Regions from separate parts of the Homo sapiens genome. Here region 1 is linked to region 2. Evidence: promoter capture Hi-C in 16 types of primary human blood cells and fetal thymus (Javierre and others, 2016). All regions are on one chromosome and are shown on one strand. The core of a region is centred on a gene start or on the middle of the fragment in contact, and the rest is flanking DNA. Distances in the headings are between cores, read along the strand shown.

Region 1 (7,230 bases), core at 1,625-4,124, 540 kb after region 2:
TGTGTTATTTAACCTTAGGTTTTTTTCCAGTCTGGTCGGTGAAAATGTTATCTTAGTGTAACTTTAATTTCTTTCTCTCATGAGTAAGTTAGAACATCTTTTTCATATGCTTAAGAGCCATTTATATTTCCTTTTGGTGAAGTGTGTCTTATATCCTTTGCCTATTTTGGGAGGTGGGGGTGGTTTAAAAATCACTTTGTAGTTGCTGTTTATAATATGGAGATTTGCCCTTTGTTATATGAGTTGCAGCGTATTTCCCCGTAGTTTGTCATTTGTCTTTCAACTTTGCTTATGATGTTTTTGCTATGTAGATTTTTTAAAAAATGTACTTGAATTTGTCAGTCTTTTATGACTTCTAGATTTAGTCATAGTTAGAAAAATCTATACTACTCCAAGGTTATGAAAGAATTCCCTCACGTTGGCTTTTACTACTTTCATGGTTTCTGTTTTGCATTTAAATTTTTGATCCATTTTTCCTGGTGTATGGTATGAGAGGTAGGTCCAACTTTATTTTTTTCCAAATGGCTACGCAGTTGTCTCAACACCATTTGTGAATAGTCTACCTCTACGCTGTTTTGCTTCTTACTCAAAACAAGACTGATTCATCTCCTTTTTTTTTTCACACCTACTCTGCTGTGACTGAATATGAATACAATTCTCTGCTTTCCTTCCTGTAGAACACCTTCTTCAGTGGCAGAGATGTCTTTCTCCCTGCTGCCTCCCTGCTTTCCTCAGCAATACCGCACGCAGCCTGGCAGTCAGTTAATGTTGGAATGAATACGGGGTACTCAGAAGCTCTCCAGGATTTTTCATTGAGCAATAACTGGTTAAAAAGAAATCCTAACTGTAATCAGGTTCCTTAGAAGACTGTTCAAACTGGAGATGTCTTCGGGCTCTCTCTAGTCATGGTGATCAGTTATTCCAGAAGCTAAAGGTGTACTACCTGGGTCCTTTACTCTAGAGGCAGTCCGATTTGGGTTGCTTCCCTCCATGCAAATTACTCTCATCTGCTACCTCTGCTTTGTCTGACAGCATGGGATATTACCTTCTGTAATTTGAGATGGGAACCATAAAATGCCAACAAGGTGGTGTTGATTCCCCATGATGCAATGGCCAGCTCAAGAACCTCATTTACTTGGAAAGTGAGGCTGTGGATAAATGATTTTGGAAACATTCCTTCTCAGTTTGAACCCCAAGCAGATGTTGTTTCATCTGTGGAACCTAGGGAAAACCCTAGCTTTGTTCTTCTAGGTGAGAGTGTCCAAGCAGGCAGATGAAACTGAATTTATTTGATACCTTTCCTTACTAGCATTCTCTAAGCTATGTGGGCTAGTTTTATAGCTACCTGATAAAAGACTTCCTTCCACTTTGAACCATTGCCCTAGGCTATATTTCCTTTCTAAACTTGTCCAGGCCATCTTGCCTATTCTTTATTATTGAGGCTTACCTTTTGATCCTGTTTCTTATCTCTGCCTTCAGACTTGCCGCCTGATGCTGGTAGTACCCTCTTTGTCCAGTACCAATTTGACTTAAAAGTTATTTTGGCCAAAAGCAATGTGGTCAAGTACAATTTAGCTGAAAGCAAGTTGGTTAACTGATTTGTTGTAATCAGCTATTAATTGAAACAATGATTTCGTCAAAACAATGAGTTGGTCAAAATGAATATCCTGTTAATAGTTTTTGAGTAGTGGTAATTTCAGTGTAAAATGATTAGATACTTTTGGTCCATTTTCTAGGGACTTTTCCAGTATTTTTCTTTTACAGTTCAAGTTAACTTTCAGCTATGGCAGCATTTGATTGCTTGTGATTTCAAAAAGTTAAAGCAACCTAGCTACCCAGTAATAGGAGAATAGTTGGACAAGAGTAATCTTAACTAAAAGGCAATAAGAGGTTAATTGGAACAAACAAAACACCCAGTGATAAGATAAAAACATGTTTCCTGTATTATTTTTCTTTTCCCCTCATAAAAAAGGCTGTGCATATGCAGTACAGGACATTCAGAAAAATGTAGATAAAGACTAGAAGGAAAAAAGAAAAAAGCTATAAATTAATTCACCCAGGAATAACCACTGTTGTCCTTCCCTATCCTTCTAAGTGCATTTTATACACATAAACTCTACCTATAGTTTGTAATTTGCCATAATTTATTTAAGCATTCTCCAGTTATTGGTTAGTCACTTTTGTTGAGAATCAGATTTTGGTTCCTTTGTGCAACTGTGGGCCAGGCTACCTTTAGCTGGGAATAGATTGCCTTTCTCTTTTCCCTTCTGTCCCTCAATCCTGCCTAGGCCTGCATCCAGCCTGGGCTCTCAAGGCCCCCCTGCCTGCTTTAAGTGAGACACTTTGTAAATGAAACCATTCTGCCAAGCCTTTCTATGGTTACTAAAGAGGCCTGGTTCCAGAATTCCTGTGGAACTCTCTGGTTATATATAAAAATTTTTTTGGAGTTCATGCTTGATATATGTTATATGTATATGTATGCAAATCAGATAGAGTGAAGAGATGGGAGGGATTATATTGGGTCTCCATTAAAATAAGAATAAAGAGGCATTGCAGCAGAGAACTCCATTATCAGTGGAGGGAAATTAGGAGATTTTCTCTAAAACAGGGTTGGCAAATATGTGCTATGTGTTGTGCCTGAACCTGAGTCATGATAGACTCACTAATCAGTCATGGCACTATTTCTCACTAGATCCAGACTCAGCTTTAAGTCTTTCTCAAGGTTGGGTTCTAGGTGGCTGTATCCACTGTAGTTGCTGTGGGAGACAAATGAGTTACTACTCTTGCTTCTAAGATGTTACATTAAAGTTATTGTTTTTTGTTTTTTTTTTTTTACAGTGGATTGACCAAGAAAGTTTTTGTTTGTTTGTTTTTCTTTGAGACAAAGTCTTGATCTGTTGTTCAGGCTGGAGAGCAGTGGCAAGACCATGGCTCATTGCATCCTTGACCTCCCGGCTCAAGCGATCCTACTGGCTTCAGGTAGCTGGGACTACAGGTATATGCCACCACACCGGGCTAATTTTTTTTAATTGTAGAGACAGGGGTTTCCCTATGTTGTCCAGGCTGGTCTCAAACTCCTGGGCTCAAGGGATCCTCCTACCTTGGCCTCCCAAAGTGCTGGGGTTATAGGTGTGAGCCACCATGCCTGGCCTGACTGGGAAAGTTTTAATAAAATGTTTTCTATCTGATAAATAAGTTCATGTTGAAAAATATGGGATGTGAGCAAAGAGTAATTATCTGGATTTCAGGCAAAGCACATGCCTTGTAGTTAAGATCATTGAAGCAGCATAATCACATTATAGATTTGTTATGGAGTGAAAACAATGTCATAATAATACTCATCAGTATAAATTGCCCATGGTATGGTCATGGTGATTGACTCCCCAGTATTCATCCCACCGCAGGTGATTTGTCTAAGCAGTCATGGTTAATCCCATTTCCCTTGCCGGTGAAGAGTTAGGAATGGCCTGTAACCTATTCTGGCCAATGAGAGATGAAGGAAAAGTCTACAGACGGCTTGAGTGCTTCTGGGAAAGGATTTATTGATTCTAAACAGAGAGAAAAGAAAGAGATGATGCCTCATCTCCCTGTGATTTTATGTTTGAGTATAGTGGCTAGAACTGCTCTATCCATCTTGGGACCATGAGGGAAACTAGCTTTGGGGGGTGCAGCTGATCTAGATGATGACAGAACAGATGGAAGAAACCTGAGCCCTTGATGACCTTCCTGAATTGCTGATTGTATTGTACTTGGTCTGCCTTACCTCTGAACTTCCAGTTCTGTGAGATAATACAGTTCCTCATTGTGTAAGTAGGCATGATCTGCGAATTTGTCATTTGCAGCCAGAAACATCCTGATGTGATACCTACTTTGTCCCAAGCAGATTCACGTCAGGTGGATTTGATATTATTTGGATAGGTTTCTTTTTGCTGGGGCTCTTCCCTCCCCATGTCTTCTGCCTTCATAAAGTGGATGCAGATTCTAACTGGCCAGGTCTTGTCTCTATCTTTTCTAAGGGGCTCTGCCTTAGACCAGGGATCTTCATAGGAAGCAGCAAGGAATCAAACAGCACTCATTGTCTCTTCCAGAGTCTTTTGGGTTGTTTGAATATCTGGTGGTGTGACTGCTACCATTTGTTGTTCATTCCTTCTTTTTCTGATTCTGATTCTGATTTCTTGCTTAGATCTTGGTCCTCACTTTTGTATATTTTGTGTCTCATGCCTGACCTCAAGATTGTTTGATAGATTTATTTTCTTCTCTTCTGCAACTCTTTCCCCTTATCTCCTTCATCCACTCCTTCCTCATCTTGTGACTTGATTTTGTGGCCAGTGGAGACTATTCTAAGCAGATGGGTATATGTTATTTGCCAGGAGCAATAGTGAGTTACATGAGTAATCATACATCTATTTGCTCTAGACTGGTAGAGTAAAAAGTAAGAGTAGTTCACCCCTTGGTCTTCTCATCTAGTACCTTTCACTCATGGCATAGAATAATAGAACTGGAAATGGTCTAGGAGTCAGAGCATTTGAGTCTTCATTATGGCCTAGCCATTTGCTACCTGAAATTTTGGGCAAGTCTCTTAAGTATATTTTTTCCTTAAAGTTTGTTGCTATTGTCTGTCTAATTTTTAAAATAGTATTATAGTGATTCAAATGAAATAATGAACCTGGCAAATGAGAAGGTTTTTTTAAAAAAACACTCAAACTTGGTTGGATTTTCTGTTTATTTTCAGTGAACTAATGTCAAAGTCTCTAAATTGTGTAGTTTGTTAGTCTCTTTGTAGAAAGGCAACGGAGTATGATGTGGGGCATAATAGTACAAGTAATTAGGGATTGAAATTTATATTTTAGTGTTAACTAGGCCTGAAAAAAAGAAAAAAGGCCACACGATATTAAAAATAAAGGTCAGGATGTTGATCTTGAGGCTTATTTCTAGTTCAACCAGAAATTCTGGTCAGCCGAATTAGGGGGAAAGAGAAACCAATAAAAGAAACACCCCCCTCTAGTGGCGAGGGGCCAGATTCTCCACTTGGTTGCTAAGATGGATGAGGGGAATGGATAACTTCTTAGGATATTTTTTGTTTCTTAAGAATTCTGAGGTTGTAGAGTTAGACTACTTAAGGGAGATCTTAGTTCAGGCTTTATTTGTCAGGAAACTTAACACATTTCTCAGGATAACTAGTATCTTGTCAGTCTCATGTGAAATTGGTTAAAAAATGTAGAGGCTACTGTTGTTGGAAGAGGTTCACAGTTTACTTTTATATAGGCCACATGGAGATCATGAAAATTAGGAGACATTTGTTGCTAAACTTCTTATTGGGTCTGAGATGATATAGTAGGTACCTTTATAATCCCATTCACAGGGGGATAAATATTTAAAGTTGTGGGTTATGCCATAGAGTAGTATTAATCTATGTTTGTACAAAATAGTGGCTGTGGATTTCCTAAGTTTTGATTTGAAATTTTTACTGGTGATCCTGAGAACCAAATGTTTAACTTGCATCTTGGGAATGATTTAATTGCTACCTATGGAAAGGCAGTGAAGTTAAGTATATTAAAATAACATCACCCATACTTTAGTGACTCAGGAGGAGCACCTAATGCTTTTTTTTTTTTTTTTTTTTTTTTTTTTTGAGGCAAGGCCTCACTCTATTGCCCAGGTTGGAGTGCCATGGTGCAGTTTCGGTTCACTGCAGCCTTGACCTCCTGGGCTCAAGCAGTCCTCCCACTTCAGCCTCCTGAGTAGCTGGGACTACAGGTGTGCACCACCACACCAGGCTAATTTTATTCATTTTTTGTAGAGATGAGGTCTCCCTGTGTTGCCCAGGCTGGTCGTGAACTGGGCTCAAGGGATTCTCCTACCTTGGCCTCTCAAAGTGTTGGGATTACAGGCATTAGCCACTGCACCTGGTGCACCTAATGCATTCTTGAAGGATGTTTCATCTTAAGGATATAAATCGTTAGTGATAATGATTGTAAGTGATTGTTACATTTGCAAATCTCAAAGTCCATTGAAGTTTTTACTGTTTCAACTTCTGTTTGGGAAAGATTATTTTACATTTGTTTAAAGATTTCTGAAGAGGCAAAATTTCAGAGAATAATATTTTTATAATACTCTGTTAGATCTAAGTTAAGACTGGAATGCCATTCAAATTCAATGGTTAAAAGGCATAAGAAAATAAATTCTTATATCAGACTGCATTATCAATATGCCATTTCCTTATTTTTAATGTCAAACTTCCTTGCCCTGAAGGAAAAAAATTGAAGCTTGCAGTTGACCAGCCATTCCATAACTTGGAGTATGTTTGGTGGCCTTTCTTATGAAATAGTAATGGAAAAATTCCATAGAAAATATAAACTCGTGTGTGGATGAAGTGAGATTATAGAGTTACGAAATTAATTTTTGTGCATAACTTGTGGAGCTGATAGCCTTAATTTATTATTGTACTTCATAAATATACTTTATTTCAGGAAAGAAGAACTAGGTCTGGCAGTAGATCAGAATCTACCTGTTGGGGAAAACCAGAAATAGGAAGAAGAGTTATTAATGGTTCATTCTTGGCTGAGAAGAATTCAGTATGGAATAATTAAGGTTAGTTTAGAGAAATAATATATGATTATGTTAAGGAGTTCACAAATATTATTGAAAGTAAACTGGTTAAAACTGATTTGTTAATGTAAATGGGGCCAATAAACCAATTAGATGATCTCGCTACTAAATTGATGTGATAATAGAGGATATCTGGAGGGAAGTAAAATAGATGATAAGGTTAGTGGTAATGAGACTTCATTAAATCCTAGTACTAAAGAGATACTGTGTACATTAGTGACAGCTTAATTCTATAAATAAAAGTTGATGTTAAGAATTGATATGGGGCCTGTGGTGACTCACACTTGTAATCCCAGAGACTTGGGAGTCTGAGGTGGGAGGATTGCTTGAGGCCAAGAGTTCCAGACCAGCCTGGGCAACATAGTGAGACCCCCCTCTCATTCACTCATAAATAAATACATAAATAGCAAGCCCAATGTGGTGGTGAGTGCCTGTATTCCCAGCTACTTAGAAGGCTGAGCCAGGAGGATCGCTGGAGCCCAGGAGTTTGAGGCTGCAGTGAGATATGATTGCCCCACTGTACTCTAGCCTGGGGGACAGAGCAAGACCCCATCTCTAAAATAATAATAACTGATACAATGTTGGCACTGCTGAAATTAGGCAGGTATTATTTGTGTAAAG
Region 2 (6,692 bases), core at 4,151-6,650:
AAAACCAAAAGCTTACAGACAAACCAATAAGTATCAAAAATCAAAGAAGCCACGTTATGACCTTAAAACATGTAGTAGACACATTATAAACCTGTCTGATGAATATATCCAGGAGAAAATGTCTGAATTATATTGAACTGACAATTCTGAAGTCATTATTATTTTATTTTACCAACTATTTTAAAACTAGCTTCATTTCCCAAATATTATCACATACATGTAACACATATTGAGTTATAGAAATATAGACACATAGACACAGCAGGTCTTAGAGCTTTCATCAGGAATTCTCATTTGCCAGCTTTCAAAAATAAAGCAAAATTTAGACAGATTAAATTTAACAAAGTTAAACAAAAAACAATTCACAGCTCCCCAAATCAAAACAGGTTGAGAGAGACTGGCACTGCTGCATGGTCCAAACAATTTTATAGAAAAAAAGGTGACATACAAAAAACAAAAATAAAATACAAAAACAGCTGGGATTACAGTGTGAGCCACCGTGCCTGGCCCCTTTCTGAATTCTTTTATTGTTTATAGTAAGTTTTCAGTTGATTTTTTTTTTTGGATATACAATTATATCTGCAAATGGAGATAATTTAACTTCCTCATTTCTAATCCTTTTGTCTTAGACTGATTTTGTGGTGTAATGGTCTTTGCACTCCTGGCCTTGCTGGTCTTTTCCTTCCTGTCTTTTTTCTAAGCCTGAACTGGTAGCCTCCCTGGCCATTCTCTGTGTTATTCAATATACTTTCAATAAATTCCTTTTCACTTAATGTCAGAACTGGTTTTCTGTTACTTTATCTAAGAAGCCCAACTAAATGTTGATTTTGCACATATAGTGCAAATAATGCCCAATGATGCATTATCAGTAGTGATATCTGTTGCCATTTATTGAGGGGCTATTGAGGCTGTGTGCCAAGTCATTTGTATATATAATACCAATCAATTCCTAGACAATGTGCCCCTGGTTATAGTATCATGTTTGAACTCATCATTTCAGCTTCTTCAAAGAGACTGCTTTTTGTGTTAGTAGTAGCTCTAAAATGTAAGGTAAGAGCCAGTTTAATATGTATATGCTTTTGTTTGCTTTGAAATTATAAAGTCAATTTTTATTAGGTTAACAACGTTTCAGGTTTTTTTTTAAAGCAGTGATACCTTATTCCCAAAGCAAATGCTGGAAGCCCAGTATGAAACACATTTTAAAGGAAAGCTGCAAAGGTTGGGTAGATTACGTAGAAGGAAGTTACTTAACCTAGAATATCGTGATGTGTCTGAGCATAGACAAAAAGGACAAAGCGTTTGGATGATGAAATACAGACATTTCTGGACACAGATCTTGGTGGCTCATATGGGTTGAATTGTGTCCTCCAAAAAGATATATTGAAGTTCTACCCCCTAGTACCTCAGGTGACTTTATTTGGAAATAAGGTCTTTAGAGAAGTGATCAAGTTAAAATGAGGTAATTAGGGCAGCCCCTATGACTGGGGTTCTTATAAAAGGAGTAAATTTGAACACAGACAGATATACACAAGGGAAGACAATGTGAAGACACAGAAGGAATGTCTACAAGGAATGTCTAAAGCTACCAGAAGCTAGGAGAGACGTGTGGAACAGAATCTTCCTCAGAATCCTCAGAAGGAACCAATCCTGCTGATACCTTGATTTCAGATTCCATGGTCTCCAGAACTGAGATCCAGAAATTTCTGTTATTTAAGCTACCCAGTTTGTGGTACTTTGTTATGGCTGCGGAAACTAAACACAGCACCTATGTGGCCAACTGGACAGAGTTTTGGAATTGGAGTGTCCTACACATTCCAGAATGTATGTTCGTTGTAAATAATGTTTTTCTGGCATGGGTGAAGGACCTTGATTAATTACATGCTTGTTATTTATCAAAGATCTCTTCAAGCTCGGGAAGTGATCAATCCTTACAATTGTTGCGTTCATCACTTAAGAGTTGGAAAAAGCCTGTCTTCAAGTACAAACTTTTTATGTCCTAAACCAGAGACAGTAAACTGGCAACTGGCAATAAGTATTTTGTTTGGCCTACACAGTGTTTCGAAAATAGGGGGAAAAATGTACTTGCCAATATTTAAAGAGCAGATTTCTTATAAACATTTCTGGATGTTATGGTTTGAATGTCCCCTCCAAAACTCATTTTGAAATTTAATTGCCACTCTAACAGTATTGAGAAGCCGGACCTTTAAGAGGTGATTAGGTTATGAGGGCTCTGCCCTCATGAATAGATAATTGTTATTGTGGGAGTGGGTTAGTTATCCTGGGTGTGAGCTCTTGACAAATAGGATGAATTCAACCTGATTTGTTCTCTCTGTCTCTAGAGCTCACTTCTGCCTTCTACCCTTCTGTCATGGTATGGATGACCCTCACCAGATGCTGATGCCACACTCTTGGACTTCTCAGCTGCAGAAGCATTAGCCAAATAGTCTTCTGTTCATTGTAAACTACCCAGTCTGTGGTATTCTGTTATAGCAGCAGAGAATGGACTTAAACACTGGATTTCCGGTTTGCTTGAAAAATGAGAAGATTTGCATTTCCTCATGACAACAGTTGACTGTTGCTGAAGATCTGCTGCTTCCTTTAGTCAGGCCAGGAGTACTTCTGTCAGCTACATAGCCACCAGACCCACTTAATGGGCTGAGTCTATAAACCCTGTGCTGCAGTGAAGTAGGGAAACAATAAGAGCTAGTGTTTGCTCAGCACCGCTATGTAGCAGGTGCTTCCTAGACATTTATTCAACAAATATTTATTGAGGGCCTACTAGGTGCCAGACACTGCTCTAGCTACTTGGAATATACCAGGGAATAAAACAAACGACCCATGTAAAACTTACATATTAGTGGTGGATGAAGGACAGAATCAAATAATCATTATGATAAATAAGTAAATTACATGGTATATTAGAAGGCGATATGTTCTTTTTTATTTTATTATTATTATACTTTAAGTTTTAGGGTACATGTGCACAATGTGCAGGTTAGTTACATATGTATACATGTGCCATGCTGGTGTGCTGCACCCATTAACTCGTCATTTAGCATTAGGTATATCTCCTAAAGCTATCCCTCCCCCCTCCCCCCACCCCACAACAGTCCCCAGAGTGTGATGTTCCCAGAAGGTGATATGTTCTAAAGGGAAATTGCAAGTCCTGGGAGAAGGTAATTTGTTATTTTAAATGAGGTGGTCAGGGTAGGGCTCCCTGAGAAGATATTTGAGTGGACTCGGGAGGAGAGGGAGTTAGCCACATGGACTTATTGGGGAAGAGTGTTTCAGGCAGACAGAAAAGCTAAAGAAAAGGTCCAAAAGCAGGAGTGTGTCACTGGTGTTTGAGGAAGGCAAAGAAGCAAGTGTGACTGGAGCAGAGTAAAAAAGGGGAGAGTGGAAGGAGGAGTGCTCAGATGGTAAGAGACTGTGTCAGAATATGGAAGAGCTTGAGAACTGATATGGTTTGGATATTTGTCCCTGCTCAAATCTCATGTTGTGTTGTAATCCTCAATGCTGGAGGTGGGGCCTGGTGGGACATGCTTGGGTCATGGGGGTGGATCCCTCATGGCTTGGTGCTTGTTTAGTGATAGTGAGTTCTCATCAGATTTGGCTGTTTAAAAATGTGTGGCACCTCTCTCTCTCTCTGTCTCTTTTCTTTTGCTCTCTCTCTTGCTCCTGCTTTCAACATGTGACATGCCTGTTCCCCCTTCACCTTCTATGATTGAAAGCTCCCTGAGACTTCACCAAAAGCAAGCAGATGCCAACATAATGCTTCCTGTAAAGCCAGCAGAATCATGAGCCAATTAAACCTCTTTTCTTTGTAAATTACCCAGTCTCAGGTATTTCTTTATAGCCATGCAAGAACAGCCTAAGGGAAGGCCCTAGAAAGGACTCTGGGTTTTACTCGAAGTGAAATAGGGAGCCATTAAAGGGTTTTGAGCCAAAGAGTGATCTGATCTAACCTAGATCTTAAAATAATCACACAGCTGCTCTGCTGATACCAGACTGTAGGGGGAAGAAGGACAATAAGGGAAGCAGGAAGATGTGTTTGCAGGCTTTTTGCAGTGATCAAGAAGCGGCTTGGACCAGAATGGTAGCAGGGGAGGTGTGTTAACTGGTGAAAGTTAGGATGTCTTTAAAGGTAGAGTCAATCTCCAGATGGATTAGATGTGAGGTGTGGAACAAAGAGGCCAAACCAAAAACCCAAAGGTTTCTGCTTGAGTAACTGCAAGGACAGACTTACTATTTGAGATGAATAAGCTGTAGGAAGAGTAGATTTCAAGGGGAAAATCATCAGTAGCTCTGTTTTGGACAAGTTGACCTTGAGATGTATACTGGATATCTGAAGGAAACATTGAAAAAACTGTTGGATACAAGTTTGGAGTTCCAGGGACTTGTCTGGTTGGCAATAAATCTTTCCTCTTCTGATCTAGTCTCATAGCTTTAAACAGAATATAATGCCACATAATGCCAATGACTCCCAAATATTTATGGTTATGGTCGATTCCAGGCAGATTGTGGTGATGTGGCCATATTGCCAGCAAAGGGAGGTCAGGGTTTCTAGCGCTGCCTCTTTATCTCCGATTATGGAACAGGCATGGTTTTAGTTCCAGTGCTTGGGTCTCCCTGGATTTAGACATCATTCCTTTGAATTCCCACCCAATATAATGAGGGTCAATATCTTCGCTAGCTTTACTAAGTCTTAATTATCTGGTGAGGTGTAGACACAAATTTGAATCAAGGTCTGAAGTCCTTACCTGGGGCTCTTTCTTCCATGCCATCATGCCAGTCTTTGTGAAGACATTTTTCAAAGGCTCATTCTTCTTACCTCTTTTCTAGGAATTTTAGTTTATTTCTTTACTTAACTTCAGAAATTAATTTCTCACTTCATTTTAGTAGCAGGAATGTTAGTGCTGAGAAACTGAGATGTTAGGGAGAATCCTTGACCAAGACTTCCAGGCTCTAGATACTAGGTGTGTCTTGCTCTAATTAAGGAAATCTTATCTGCTCCATCTTAGCCCAGTTTAACGTCCCCAGGAATTCCATCTTCTGCAGTCCTAAACTTTTCCCTTTTTCAATTCAGTGCAACTTATACTCTTCTCTGAAAGTGGCTCCAGGTCTGAAGAACTGTGGTCTGGGAGGAATAGAAAAGCATGCTCAGCTATAACCAGGCCCACATCCCCTAAGTTGCCTGCCCACCAAGTTACGGGCCGGACTTATGCGCCACGCTTTGTCCGGGGACCTCGCGCTGTCCTCCCTCCGGTTCCCACAGAGCAGGGGGCTTCCGGCGGGGTACCCTCCTCTGTGGGCGGGGCCTACCGCTCCCGCTCCCGCCTCCCCGGTTGCGCGCGGCTGCGGGCTGCGATCACGTGAGCACAGCAGGGAGGGGGAGGGGCCCTGATTTCCGGGCGGCGGAAGGAGACGCGGCCGCGTGAGGACGAGGCTATTTGAAAACACGCTCCGGGAGCTAGAGCCTGAGGTCGGCGGCGCACGCTGTTGCCCCGTGGGCTTCTGCTCCCTCGCTTGTCTTCTCGGGCTTCTCGCCCCGGCCGCGGCCGGGTCCTCAGGTAAGCGGCCGTCGCCCGTCGGGCCGGGTCCTCCCGGGGCGCGGGACTGAGCGTGGTGGGGCCGTCGCCCCCCGATCCGCGGCCCAAGCGGGCAGGGTCGGCCGTGCACGATTTGCGTCCCCCGGGTCTGGGCCGCGGCGTCCCTCCGAGCTGGGCCTGGGTGTGCGGCCGGCACTGCGGGGGCGGGACCCCCTAGGGCGTTTGCGGAGCTTCAGGTGACTGGGCGGGTTCGCCTGGTTTCGGGTCCGAGAGAGTTTTAGCCCGGAGTGTGTGAATCGGGCCCCACTTCCCCGACTCTGGTCCTGGCCGGCGTCCCTTGGAGTAGGAGGAACGATGGTTTCCTAAAACCCATGGTGTGTTCGCCTCTGGGATGGATGCAGGACCGAATACGGAGTGGGGATGAGCTGGCGTCCCCTGTTCCGTCCTCTGGTCGCCCAGGCGGGAGAGTTAAGCGAGCGGAAGGGGACTACCAGTTTTCTGGGGTCGCCCCTGCCTGGGCCATTTGCTTTTTGGGAAGTCTGTCGCCTCTGGTTGGCCCCTCAGTGGAGTTTGGAGGAACTCATGAGTTTAAGGGTTTGGGGAGGAAATTATCAAAGGCCGAGTGCAGTACGATCGTTCTCTCTGATTTTTTTTGGAAAAGAAGGTGGAAATGAGGAAGGGTAAGAAGGTGGCAGGCAAACTATTTATAGTTGGAATTTAGTTCGATTGAAATCCTAAAAACGCTAGGATCTGCCTTTTGTTGGAATTAGAAAAGACCTACAGTAGGAATGTGTGACATTCAGCTTTGAAACTATTGGGGATCGCAAACCTAAGGACTAGTGATGTGAGCTCCTCCTCTGAGACTGGCGTTCCTACCTTTTGCTAAAAACCGGCTACTGTAAAAGTGGCTTAGTGGGACTTTTTGATTTGCTGTGTTATGAAAATCTTTGTTATAAGTTAAAGTCAATTACTAGTAGAACTTTGAGAGTTCTTCGCATGAAAATGCTTTGTATCCCGTAATAATATTACTAGGTTTGAAAAGTCAAGGAAGGTCAATCAGCCTTCTTAATTTTCCTAACAGAGAAAGCATTAATGTGACTAATACAAAGCGATAGATAATATGGCATGAAGTTGACAGTAGAC

The links. Contacts are between HindIII fragments. The CHiCAGO score rates a contact against its expected background, and 5 or more counts as called.
Region 1: a contact is called between a fragment that was not itself captured here and the fragment with the promoter of TEX10 in region 2, in 1 of 17 cell types (total CD4 T cells). The highest score is 6.1, in total CD4 T cells.

Annotation. Positions count from the first base shown.
Region 1 is chr9:99,805,232-99,812,461 of GRCh38, reverse strand. LOC101928438 (a long non-coding RNA gene) reads left to right here. Exons shown (of 7, transcript NR_109802.1): 2 at 6,471-6,591. Among named protein-coding and RNA genes, the nearest start is that of NR4A3, 13 kb to the left of the region's middle. The HindIII fragment of the contact is 6,789 bases long and covers 1-6,268 here.
Region 2 is chr9:100,351,650-100,358,341 of GRCh38, reverse strand. TEX10 (testis expressed 10) reads left to right here and starts at 5,400. Exons shown (of 15, transcript NM_017746.4): 1 at 5,400-5,570. LOC105376177 (a long non-coding RNA gene) reads right to left here and starts at 5,292. Exons shown (of 4, transcript NR_188642.1): 1 at 4,761-5,292; 2 at 4,247-4,345. RefSeq lists enhancers at 5,073-5,707, 6,112-6,161 and a silencer at 5,222-5,771. The HindIII fragment of the contact is 13,255 bases long and covers 14-6,692 here.